2 separate regions of the Homo sapiens genome follow, and region 2 is linked to region 1. Evidence: promoter capture Hi-C in 16 types of primary human blood cells and fetal thymus (Javierre and others, 2016). All regions are on one chromosome and are shown on one strand. The core of a region is centred on a gene start or on the middle of the fragment in contact, and the rest is flanking DNA. Distances in the headings are between cores, read along the strand shown. Region 1 holds the start of SGMS1 (sphingomyelin synthase 1). Region 2 has its middle 3.4 kb from the start of ERCC6.

Region 1 (5,386 bases), core at 1,234-3,733:
CTTAAAAATAGATGATGAACATGGTAAATACTGGTAAACTCTTCTGTTATGAAGAATTTTTAAAATTTCAGCTGCAGAGGCATGTATTGAATACAAGTTAGACACTGTGCAAGATGCTAGAAATCTTCCAATGAGTAAGATACTGGTTTAATAACCGTGTCCCTCTGATGTCAATTTAATACATCTCTGGAGTTAATGTCTTTTATTAAAAAGTTTCCGGAAATTTCAAATAGCTCACTATCATCACTGAAGAGTTGCAGAAATGTATCTTATTATTTTACTAAAAACATAAATTTCTATTCTGTGAAGCAGAAATGGAAGGAAAGGCCACTTCACTGTTTTTACATATCACTGTCACTTTCTGCAGAGTAACTACTTAAAACTGCATGGCGGCAGCAGCCACCCCACTGCTACCCAGCAGGTCACAGAGATGCAGAGACTCAAAAACATGCTATATATTGCTGTATATTTTAAGAGGCGCAGTAAGGAAACTCGAAATACCAGGGCCTCCAGAGCTAAACAGGAAGCAAGATAAGACAAGTGAGCTGCCACAGGCAGAAGGCAGCACCTGGAGGTTCCCCCAAAGCTGGCGCCTCCGACAGCAGGCACAGGCTGCTGCTTGCTTGCTTGCTTGCTTCTTTGCTTGGCCACGGCATGTCTTCAGAGCTGGAAGGCTGCCACCTGCTGAATCACCAAACATCCCTGGGCTTCCCTTGGAGCACTGACCAGACAGGCACCCATCCCCCGCAGCCTTCGCCCGTGGACGTTTCACACCCCGACCAATGAAACGCCCCGCCCTCTCCCCTTCTGCACAGGCCAAAACAGCCGCCAACCCCTTTCCATCTGGGCAGCTCTAGGCAACACCCATCGCGTTCCTACGTCACCAGTCCCACTCCTCTCCTTCGGCCCACTCAGTCCCCCCTGAATGTTTCAACCCCCAGTGCCAGGAAGCGTGGGGAGTTCACAGCACAGCACATCAGACATTCGCCACTTCCACATCCAGGGAGCCAACTAGAAACATCCCCAAACCTAAAAGCAAAATAACCTGTCCAAACAGCTTTAAAGGTCCAGGAAGATAAATGTCAAGGGAGCTAAAATAGTCGACAGGCCCCAGAACATAGAAAATAAACTTCCCTTTCAGAAAGCAGCCTTCACTTGGTTTCGTAAGCGTGTACCGCTGAAGTCTGTACTGTTTGAAGGTGAAAAGAAACATCTGAGAAGCACCTGCCTGGATTCTCTTCGCTCCCTCCGGCCATGACAACCCTTATCCCGATTTCTACTTCGCGGCACCAAAGAGGAAAGCAGCATTCACCAGAACGCTCCAGGCTGAATCCGTTAGCTGGACTAGGGCACTCTATCCGGCCCACGGGAGGACGCCACAAGCCCGAGTTCGGGTTAAGACGGTGGGAGAGGCAGCCGCTGCTGCTGCTGTTTTGCCCTTGACACGTCGCTGGGGGATAGCGCAGACCCCCTCTGTCACGGAAAAGCGGCGTCCTGGAGAGACTGTCCAGTTCTGGGCTGCGCCGATTCCCCTCCAGGCCTTGCCCCTAAACGTCCCCGCCCCGCGGGGGCAGCCCTGCGGGGTCTCAGAGCCGCCCGCGAGCCTGGCGGGCTGTTACGCGGCCTGGAGAGAAGGGGAGCGCTCCTCGGGGAGGGGGGGTCCCACCTGTTTTGTCGTCAGGGGGCATCGAGGGGCTACGGTGGGGGGATCCCGAAATAGTGGGCGCCTGGCCGGCTGCGATCTGGACCGAAGGTACCAACTGTCACACCGCCACCTAGGCTGTGGGGGTGGAGCCGTGATTGGAGTCGGCCCCTGGGTGGGGGTCTCCGGACCCCGGGCGGGCTACTGCCCAAAGGCTCCCCGCCTCCCGATCGCCCCAATCCGACACCAGGCAGCCTTCCAGCCCGCACGCAGTAGCTCTGAAAAGGTGCCCACTGACGCCTCCTCCTTCCTCCCCGCCCCAACTTAGCCGGGGAGCCCCGCCGGCGGCCCGCCCCCTCCGAGCCCGGATCCCGGCCGCCGGACCTCCCCGCTGTGACCACCCACGGGAGCAGCAGCTCTGGAGGACTGCCCGCCAGGTACGCGCGCGGCACCGCGCGGGCTGCGCTCACGCCCCCTCGCCCCAGAGCAGCCCGCCCGCTGCTCCCCGGCATAAGGCCGGGCCCGCGAGACAGGTGTCCGATCGGCCCCCGCAACCGTGAGGCCGGCTGTCTGTCCCTGCCCCACGACTCACTTGCACTGGAGTCACGGCAGCCGCCGGAATTCCGCTCGCGGAGCCCCCGCCGCGGAATGAAATCCGGGGCAGGGCAGCGTCGGGGCTCCGCACCCCAATCGCGCTCTCCGACCGGCTCCCTAGGCGCGAGGGGAGAGCAGTCAGCCCAGGCCGGTCCTTCTCACTCCCGACCTGCCCGCCGCCTGCCGCCCGCAGCCGCTGCCCCGCTGGTGCGAACGCTTTCGACTTGCCACCGCGAGCCTCCCGGGCTGCCGAGCATGCCCAGTCCGCTGCCCGAGCCGGCCCGGCTTCCCGCGCGACGCGACTCCGCTCCTCCGGGTGTTCACTGCGGCCGGGGGGGCGGGCCGGCCGGGCGGGGTCCGCGGGGGGCTCCTCCCGGGACCGAGCGGGACCCCGAACCAAGGGACAGTCGCAGTTTGGGCCCCTTGAATTTTACTTTCAAGTAATGGGAAACTGAGGAGGCGGGCGCTTTCCCCAGCGTTTTTAGGGGCCCACTAAGTAAGGCCTAGCGGGAGCCAGATTTTACAATCTGGGACGGTAAATCCCTTGGGGCAGGGCCGGAGACGGGAGCCGCTAGAGCTGGTCACAAAGCAGGGAACGCAAACTCAGCCTGCTGGAAGCCAGGCACGAGTTTGCGAACTACTACTGGATTCTTTTTCCCACCAAGCCCAAGGGCTGCGACACTTGGGATTAATGCCCAATGGATCATTCCTAGGAAACGGCCGACCTGACTATTCGGCCCATTTTCAAACCTCTAACCATAGACTCTCATCTTTCTCCCACAACAGAAAAAAAAAGCCTCTGGCGACGCCTGGGAGCGCGACGGAGGCGCAAGAGCTCTAACCGCGCGAGGTGAAAACTCCGACTGCGTCAGAGCCGCCCCGCCCCGCCTGGGGCCCACCTTCCGCCGCCCCTCCGAGCTGCGGCGAAAACCCGGAGAGCGGCTAGGCCGGGGTCGGAGCCCGCGCATGCCCAGTAGCCCCACGTGGTGCAAGTCGCCTGAAGGAAGGTTTTCCTCTGCTCCCCGAGCGAAGCCCCAGCGCCCAAGTTAGGATGGACAGCGGGGAGAGCTGGCCTTCCCGCCCCGATGCCCGCCGTCCCTGGCCGGCCCGCGCCGCACCTCGGTGGCCTACAGGCAGCCCGAGGCCGTGCCTCCCGCGGGGTCGGGGACTTGGCGAGCGGGGGAAGGGGCGCGGCTACGGGCCCGGCGTACCACGTGACTGTCCGCGGCGCTCCGGGCAGCCATCTTCCGCCCGGCCATCGGGCCGCGGGCGCTCGGAACCGACCTGGGAGCTGGCGGGACCGTCCTCCCCCGCCACGCCCTCCCATCGGGCTTTGGGCGCCGGACTCTGGCCACCGCTCGGCACCTGCCTCCGCCTCGCCTTGGGGTATAGGAGTCCTGTACCGACCCCTGGCTTGCCCAGAGGACAGGTTCTCGCCCGGGCCAGAAGCAAACTGCGGCGAAATCGAGACAACAGAACTCAGGTGGCGGAGGGTCCCCGCTTTTCCCCAGAGGCGGAAGTTGGCGAGGGAGTCCTCTTCCGTTATCCAGCGAGAGCGCTGCTCTGGCTGCCTCCCGGTTCTAACCTAGTCCCTGCAGAGGAGTGATGTACCGGCAGGGACATTGGACAGAGGCCGTGCTCTTCCCTGCAGCGCATACCCCGCGGCCCCTGCTGGTGGGCCGCTTCGATGGTGCTGAGGTTCATAGTGAATATTTATTGAGCGCCTGCCTCGAGTCCCTTGGGTTTCCTGTTGTCTCGGGACCTGCCGCGTCACTATCACCCTAGAATTTGTTAGAAATGCACGTTTTCGGCCCCACCTAGACCTACAGAACCAGAAACTGCGGGTGGAGTCCTGCAATATGATTAACAAAGCCCTCCGGGTAGTTGTCATGGACGCCTCTATATTTCAGCTAAGCAGTCCATTTTAATAAGCTAGGCAGTGAAAATTTCCATAGTTTTCCCCAAAGCACAGTGAGGAGTCAGGGATTCAAAATGAGGCAATCTGCCCCAATGCAGGCGTTTTATTGCACCCTCCACTCCTGGCTCCTCTGGTTTTTTCGCCCGTAAGACACAGTACTGCTCTTCTCAGGAAGATTAGGAAAGTACATTTGTCACATACGCTTTTCAAGCACGGCTTTAAAATAACAACTGAAATTCAGTTCAACTGCATGTTTTGAGTATCTACTGGGAGCAAGGCTCTGTGAAGTATAGTAGCCCTACTGGTTATGTTTATCAGTTTGCACCTAAAAGGTGAAAGGAAGGCTTGCTTTCTTGTGATGTAAATTTTTTCAAACTAAGGGAGTGCCAGAAAACTGCTGGCTGCTTTCTCTCCCGTGTTGGTTTCTCTCCAGTGCTATCCAGAATATGCTGTAAGCTCTGGACTTCCTGAAACAAAGGTCCAAGTAAGCATCTGGTCTTTGATGTACTTTAAAATGCACCCCACCCCCACATGAAAGATAACTAAATTTTTCAAAATATTAATACTTCTTGAATGTAAATCGTGTGTCTAAGGTACTGGCATAATTTTTTTTTTCAAATTTTCTATATGTTTGAAATGTTTCATAATAAAATCCTTTTAAATTTTTTTCCATGTGTAATTTTAGGATGATATATATATAGCACATGGAAAAAAGCAGGGCATAGAAGTATTTCCACTTTAATTTCAGTTTCATAAAATCAGAGAGAAAAAGTCATAGATATATACACCATACATAAAAAATAAAAGCGTAAATAAATACAGAAAGAAATCTAAAGAGAAATCACCATAGCAGTAAAAGTAAATTCTGTGTGAAGTGGTTATAAGAGACACTAAGAGTTGCCCCTCCTTGAAATTATATTTAGTTATGGTCCTTAAGTCACTATTATTTGTAACCAAAAAAAAAAATTGAATAAAAATAGTTCTCCCTCTTTAGTCCATCCAATCCTAAAGAATTTTTATCAGTGCCCTTTCTTTTTCTTCAGAGTCACTCTGTCACCCAGGCTGGAGTGCAGTGGCACCATCACAGCTCCCTGCAGCCTTGACTTACAGGGCTCCAGTGATCCTCCACCCTCAGCCTCCTGAGTATCTGAGACCACAGGTGCAAGCCACCATGCCCAGGTAATTTTTTATTTTTGGCCGAGGCTGTTTCATCATGTTGCCCAAACTGGCCT
Region 2 (5,386 bases), core at 1,314-3,813, 1.1 Mb before region 1:
TCCAGGGCCGCGAGGCAGGACGTCCTCTGGGAGGGCAGTGACTGCGGGTCACTGCCTGGGAAGTGCTGTCCTCACTTGGAAGCCTGAAGTCGGACAATAGGGAAATGGGGTCGGAAAGGGGACTAGGAAATGCTCCATAACATCATCTTATTCCTCCTGTCAGCGGCCCCAACCCACAATGTAACTTGTTTTTGTTGGTGGTAGTGGGTTTTTTTGTTTGTTTTGTTTTTGTTTTTGTTTTTGAGACGGAGTTTTGCTCTTGTCGCCCAGGATGGAGTACAATGGCACGATGTGGGCTCACTGCAACCTCCTCCTCCCAGGTTCAAGCGATTCTCCTGCCTCAGCCTGCCGGGTAGCTGGGATTACAGGCGCCTGCCACCATGCCCAGCTAATTTTTGTGTTTTTAGTAGAGACGGGGTTTCGTCATGTTAGCCAAGCTGTCCGCGAACTCCTGACCTCAGGTGATCCACCCGCCTCGGCCTCCTAGAGTTCTGGGATTACAGGTGTGAGCCACCACGCCCGGCTTGTAACTTGCTTTTTTTTTTTTTTAAAGGAGAAAGAATTCTAGCGATTTCTTGGATAAAATATTAAGAATAGAAAGGCAGTTGATTGACATTAGTTTCAATGCTTGAAAGTAAAAGCAGATATATAGTGGATCCCAACTTTTGAGACTGAGGTTCCCTTTGCAGCTATTTTGGAGACCCTTCCTATATCAGAATTTGGACAGGAAAAAATGGTCCACTCAAAAGGGGAAGTTGAGAGTTATTATTTACAAAGACGTGGGCGGGGTTCAGGAAAACAACTCAGGGTGGCACAACTGGAGCTATTAAGGGCCGAATTGTGTCCCCTCCCCAAAATTCATATGCTGGAGTCCTAACCGCCACTCCCCACCCCCACCCCGGGACCTCAGAATGTGACTGTATTTGAAGATAGGGTCTTTAATGAGGGAATTTAGTTAAATGAGGTCCCAAGTTATTTAGCAAGTCGTCCAAGCCCTTTTATACTCCTGCCCCATCTAATTTTTCTGCATCACTTGTGTCCTTCACTCCCTGGATGCCTATGCTCAGGATTTAGGGAACTACTTACTCTTCTCCCAGGAAGGGTGTGCTACAATTGGCTTCTACGGCCTAGCAAGCATACTGTTCACCTCTTCCCAGCTGCCTTAGCTCAGGCTGCCATAACAAATGCCATAGACTGGGCAGCTTAAACAACAGGCATTTGTTTCTCATAGTTCTGGAGGCTGGGAAGTCCAAGATCAAATGCAGGCAGATTTAGCTCATTTAGGGGAAGCTCTCCTCATGGCTTGCAAATGGTTACCTTCTCACTGTGTCCTTACATGGGGTAGAGAGAGGGCTCTGTCTTCCCTTTCTTCTAAGGCATCAGCCGTATTGGATTAGGGACTCACCCTTATGATCTCATTTAACCAGATTTGCTGCCTAAAGACCCTGTCTCCAAATAGTCACATTGAGGGTTAGGGATTCAGCATATGAATTTGGGGGGCACCCAGTTTAGCCCATAGCACCAACTCTGCCTTTGTTGACTTCACATTAATAGCTTGAAATCAGCCATAGTAGGAGTATTTATACCACAGAAATGGACAAACTATAAACTGGAACTTTGGGGGAGAGGCAATTATTAATCTTTTCCCACATACCCCTACTTGTTATTCTGTCACTTCTGTGATCTTACAAGCAGGTCCCTCTGCTTAGAATTCTCTTACCCATTCCAAACTCAGACAAAGTTTCTCTTTTCTGAAGCTTTCCCCTACCCTCTGACAGCAATAGGCTCTTGCATCTCCTGTGTACCCCCAAACCAATATTTCTAATGTCATTATTATAGTAGTTATTGATTTGGATTTTAATCCATTTTCCCTACCATTTCCTAGCCCTTACTCTAAGCTGGGCATTATTTTAAACACCCCACCCAAGGGGTTCTTCCTGCCCACTGCATAAAGAAAGACCATAGCATTGTGGTAGAAAAAGAGCTTAATAGACACGAGGCCGACCATGCCAGGTGGGAGATGGAGTGCATGCTCAGGTCATCTGATCCAAAGTCCGAAGCTCATAGGCTGGGGGTTTTTCAAACGCAGTTTGGAGGAAGGGGTGGGAGTGGCCAGGTAACAGGTGCTTGCTGCTGATTGGTTGAGGCTGAGATGAAATCATAGGGGGAGTCAAAGCTGTCCTCCTGCAGTCTGAATCACTTCTGGGTGGGGCTGTGGGAGTGGGGTTGGCGGTCCAGGTGGAGCCATGGGTGTCAGACATGCAAAAAACCTGGAAAGATATCTCAAAAAGCTACAAATAGTGGTTGTATTAGTCTGCTCTCGTGCTGCTAATAAAGACATACCCAAGACTGGGTAATTTATAAAGGAAAGAGGTTTAATTGACTCACAGTTAAGCATGGCTGGGGAGGCCTCTGGAAACTTACAATCATGGTGACAGGGGGAGCAAACATGTCCTACTTCACATGGTGGCAGCAAGGAGAAGTGCAGAGTGAAGGAGGGGGAAAGCCCCTTATAAAACCATCAGATCTCGTGAGAACTCACTATCAGAACAGCATGGAGGTAACCACCCTCACGATTCAGTTATCTCCCACCGGCTTCCTCCCACAACATGTAGGGATTATGGAAACTACAATTCAGGATGAGATTTGGGTGGGGACACAGCCAAACCATATCAGTGGTGTTATTTGCAGGAGTAATTGGGAAAGTTGAGTATCTTATAACCTCCAGAATAATGACTGACAATCGTTCATATCTGCGCCTTAGCAGGACTCAGGCTCCTCTCCTCCCCCACAGCCTGATAGCTTCCCATTAGCTTTACAAAAACAGTTGAGTTTCAGGCAAGGTCTGTTATCATGTAAACTATAGCCTAAATGTCTCTCAAAGTTAGCTGGCCCCAGTAGCTTAGAAATAATTAAGGGAAAGGCAAGATAGGTGTTGGAATGGGGGCGTTAACTCAGACCTCTTTCACTGTCATAATTTTCTAACTGATATAATTTTTGCAAAGGTGGTTTCATTGTCTTGAGTGCTTTACTAATGTTAACTTGTTTAACTATGACGATATTCATCCTTGCGCCTTTATTTCACATTTCGTGTTCAATATAAGGAATTCTCCCAATGACCTACAGAACAGAGGTCTGAGTTGACTCTCACTTTTCAAAACTTCTGGGTAACGGCAGTGCAACAAAACCGGTTTGGTTCTCTGATCCTTATAAATGGGGAAAACTCATGAAAAATAATTAGATGTATTGGAAACACAATAAATACTTTGTAAAAATTATAAATCAAAAAAGAAGCAAAAGCATATTATTTAGAACTGTGTTGGCAACCACTAGAAAAACATGTTAAATGTATGTTGAATAAATGAATCAGCAAGCTTAAAAGCAATGAATGTATAAAACCATCCATTGTGAACTGTTACCAGGAAGGATTCCCGATCCAGATGCCGAGAGAGTTCTTAGACCTTGAGTAAGAAAGAATTCGGGGCAAGTCCATAGAGTAAAGTGAAAGCAAGTTTATTAGGAGAGTAAAGGAATAAAGAATGGCTACTCCATAGGCAGAACAGCAACTTGGGCTGCTTGATGAGAATACTTATAGTTATTTCTTGATTATATGCTAAAGAAGGGGTAGATTATTCCTGAGTTTTCTAGGAAAGGGGTGGGTAATTCCCAGAACTGAGGGTTCTTCCCATTTTTAAACCATATAGGGTAACTTTCTGATATTGCCATGGCATTTGTAAGCTGTCATGTGCTGATAGGAGTGTCTCTTAGCATGCTAATGCATTATAATTAGCATATAAGGAAGAGTGAGGATGACCAGACATCACTTTCATTGCCATCTTGGTTTTCGTGGGTTTTGGCCAGCTTCTTTACCGCAAACTGTTTAATCAGCAAGGTCTTTGTCACCTGTATCTTGTGCCAACCTCCTACCTCATCCTGTGACTTAGAATGCCTGCCCTCTTGGGAATACAGCTCAGTAGGTCTCAGCCTTATTTCACCCAGCCCCAATTCAAGATGGAATCACTCTGGTTCAAATGCCTCTGACATATTTCTCCCTTCCCTTTTACAAGGGAACGCCTAATCCAAAGGGTAGTAGAGGGACAAAGATCCATCTTCTGTAACTTCTTCAAGCTGAATAAGGGCTATGCTACTCCTACCTAACTATTATGGTCTCTTGTATTCAGGGTAGTGAGGAGCTCAGTCAGAAGGCATCACTATGGTGAGGGACATTCATAACTCTTGAGGGCAAAAGGTGATATCTGGAAGATTAAAAAGTATTCAATTTAATTAAACATTGAGTAAGCTTATCCTGCACTCCCACACGGAGTACAACAGCAATATGTTCCACAACGGTAAAGCAAAATAAGTAAAACTATCCCAAGTAAACTAAATTAGAAGGCTTTCCATGAACTCGGCAACAGCTGGAACTGGGCAAGCTGATATGAAGTTGCTGTACATGCTATATGTTCCAATTAGAATTAGAATATTGATCCAGATTTTTACATTACCCATTTCTGTTATTTTTTTTCTGAGCAGCAGCCAGAGATCACTGGTTAGTTGGCAGGAAAAAGTAGGGTTAGTCTAAATTGCAAGGAAGAAAAAACCCTTAAAAATAACTGATGAGACTAGAATCTAATAACAGGTGTACCATAGTTGAAACATAACTTTTTTCTCTCTTCAGGCTCCCACTTTTATTAAAGACAAATCATGGTAAGACTGATTTGCTTCCAACTAAATAAATTTAGTTTTATACTTGGCCTGATTCTTCGTAAAAAGGGCAGCAAGAATAATTATTTTTCACATGGGTTTTTTTTTTGTAATTGGATTTGATGGATCTTTGTTCTATAAGGAATTTTAAATAAGACTTTTTTTAAAACTGAGCCCAGCCATGGGTTGCTGCCATCAAATACCTGTAAGTTGGGTAAATTCCTCTCCTCCTGAGGTCCCAAGATATTGGTGCTCCTGGGCCTCTCAGAAAGTTGCATTCTTTACTTATTACAGACCAAGAACCCTGTACAAGGACTGTGTAGACAAGGTATGAGGCCAGTTTTCCCAAGGGGCTTTTATTGTCTCTATAAGTCAAGTTTGATTCCTTGAAGCAGTTTGTTTATATTTGAAAGCATGCCATTCCAGTCAAAGGCTTGGTAAAATAATCAGTTCCTCCAACTGTGTCCTGTTGTAAAAGAAAACAGATTCTTACTGCACTTATGTAAATAACTATATTGCCATAAGAATACTCACAAATAGTTTCCAAATTCTGGAGAAATCAGGTAGAGAGAAATATGCTTCAAATTTTGTTTATAGGCATACTCAGCTGCTACAAGTTGTAAATAAAAGTTTTCTTGACTGTGAAAAACAAAACAAAGGATCAGCAACACTTTAAGAAAAA

The links. Contacts are between HindIII fragments. The CHiCAGO score rates a contact against its expected background, and 5 or more counts as called.
Region 2: a fragment that was not itself captured here is called in contact with the fragment with the promoter of SGMS1 in region 1 in 1 of 17 cell types (naive CD8 T cells); the score reaches 5.0 in naive CD8 T cells.

The regions. Positions count from the first base shown.
Region 1 is chr10:50,621,473-50,626,858 of GRCh38, forward strand. SGMS1 (sphingomyelin synthase 1) reads right to left here and starts at 2,484. Exons shown (of 11, transcript NM_147156.4): 1 at 2,235-2,484. It overlaps SGMS1-AS1 (SGMS1 antisense RNA 1), which reads left to right and starts at 3,479. Exons shown (of 4, transcript NR_126411.1): 1 at 3,479-3,719; 2 at 5,198-5,333. RefSeq lists enhancers at 532-691, 1,242-1,641, 2,353-2,881 and silencers at 1,832-2,171, 2,432-2,691, 2,740-2,897, 3,022-3,651. The HindIII fragment of the contact is 12,791 bases long and covers 1-5,386 here.
Region 2 is chr10:49,539,814-49,545,199 of GRCh38, forward strand. No RefSeq gene overlaps it. Among named protein-coding and RNA genes, the nearest start is that of ERCC6, 3.4 kb to the left of the region's middle. The HindIII fragment of the contact is 1,617 bases long and covers 1,756-3,372 here.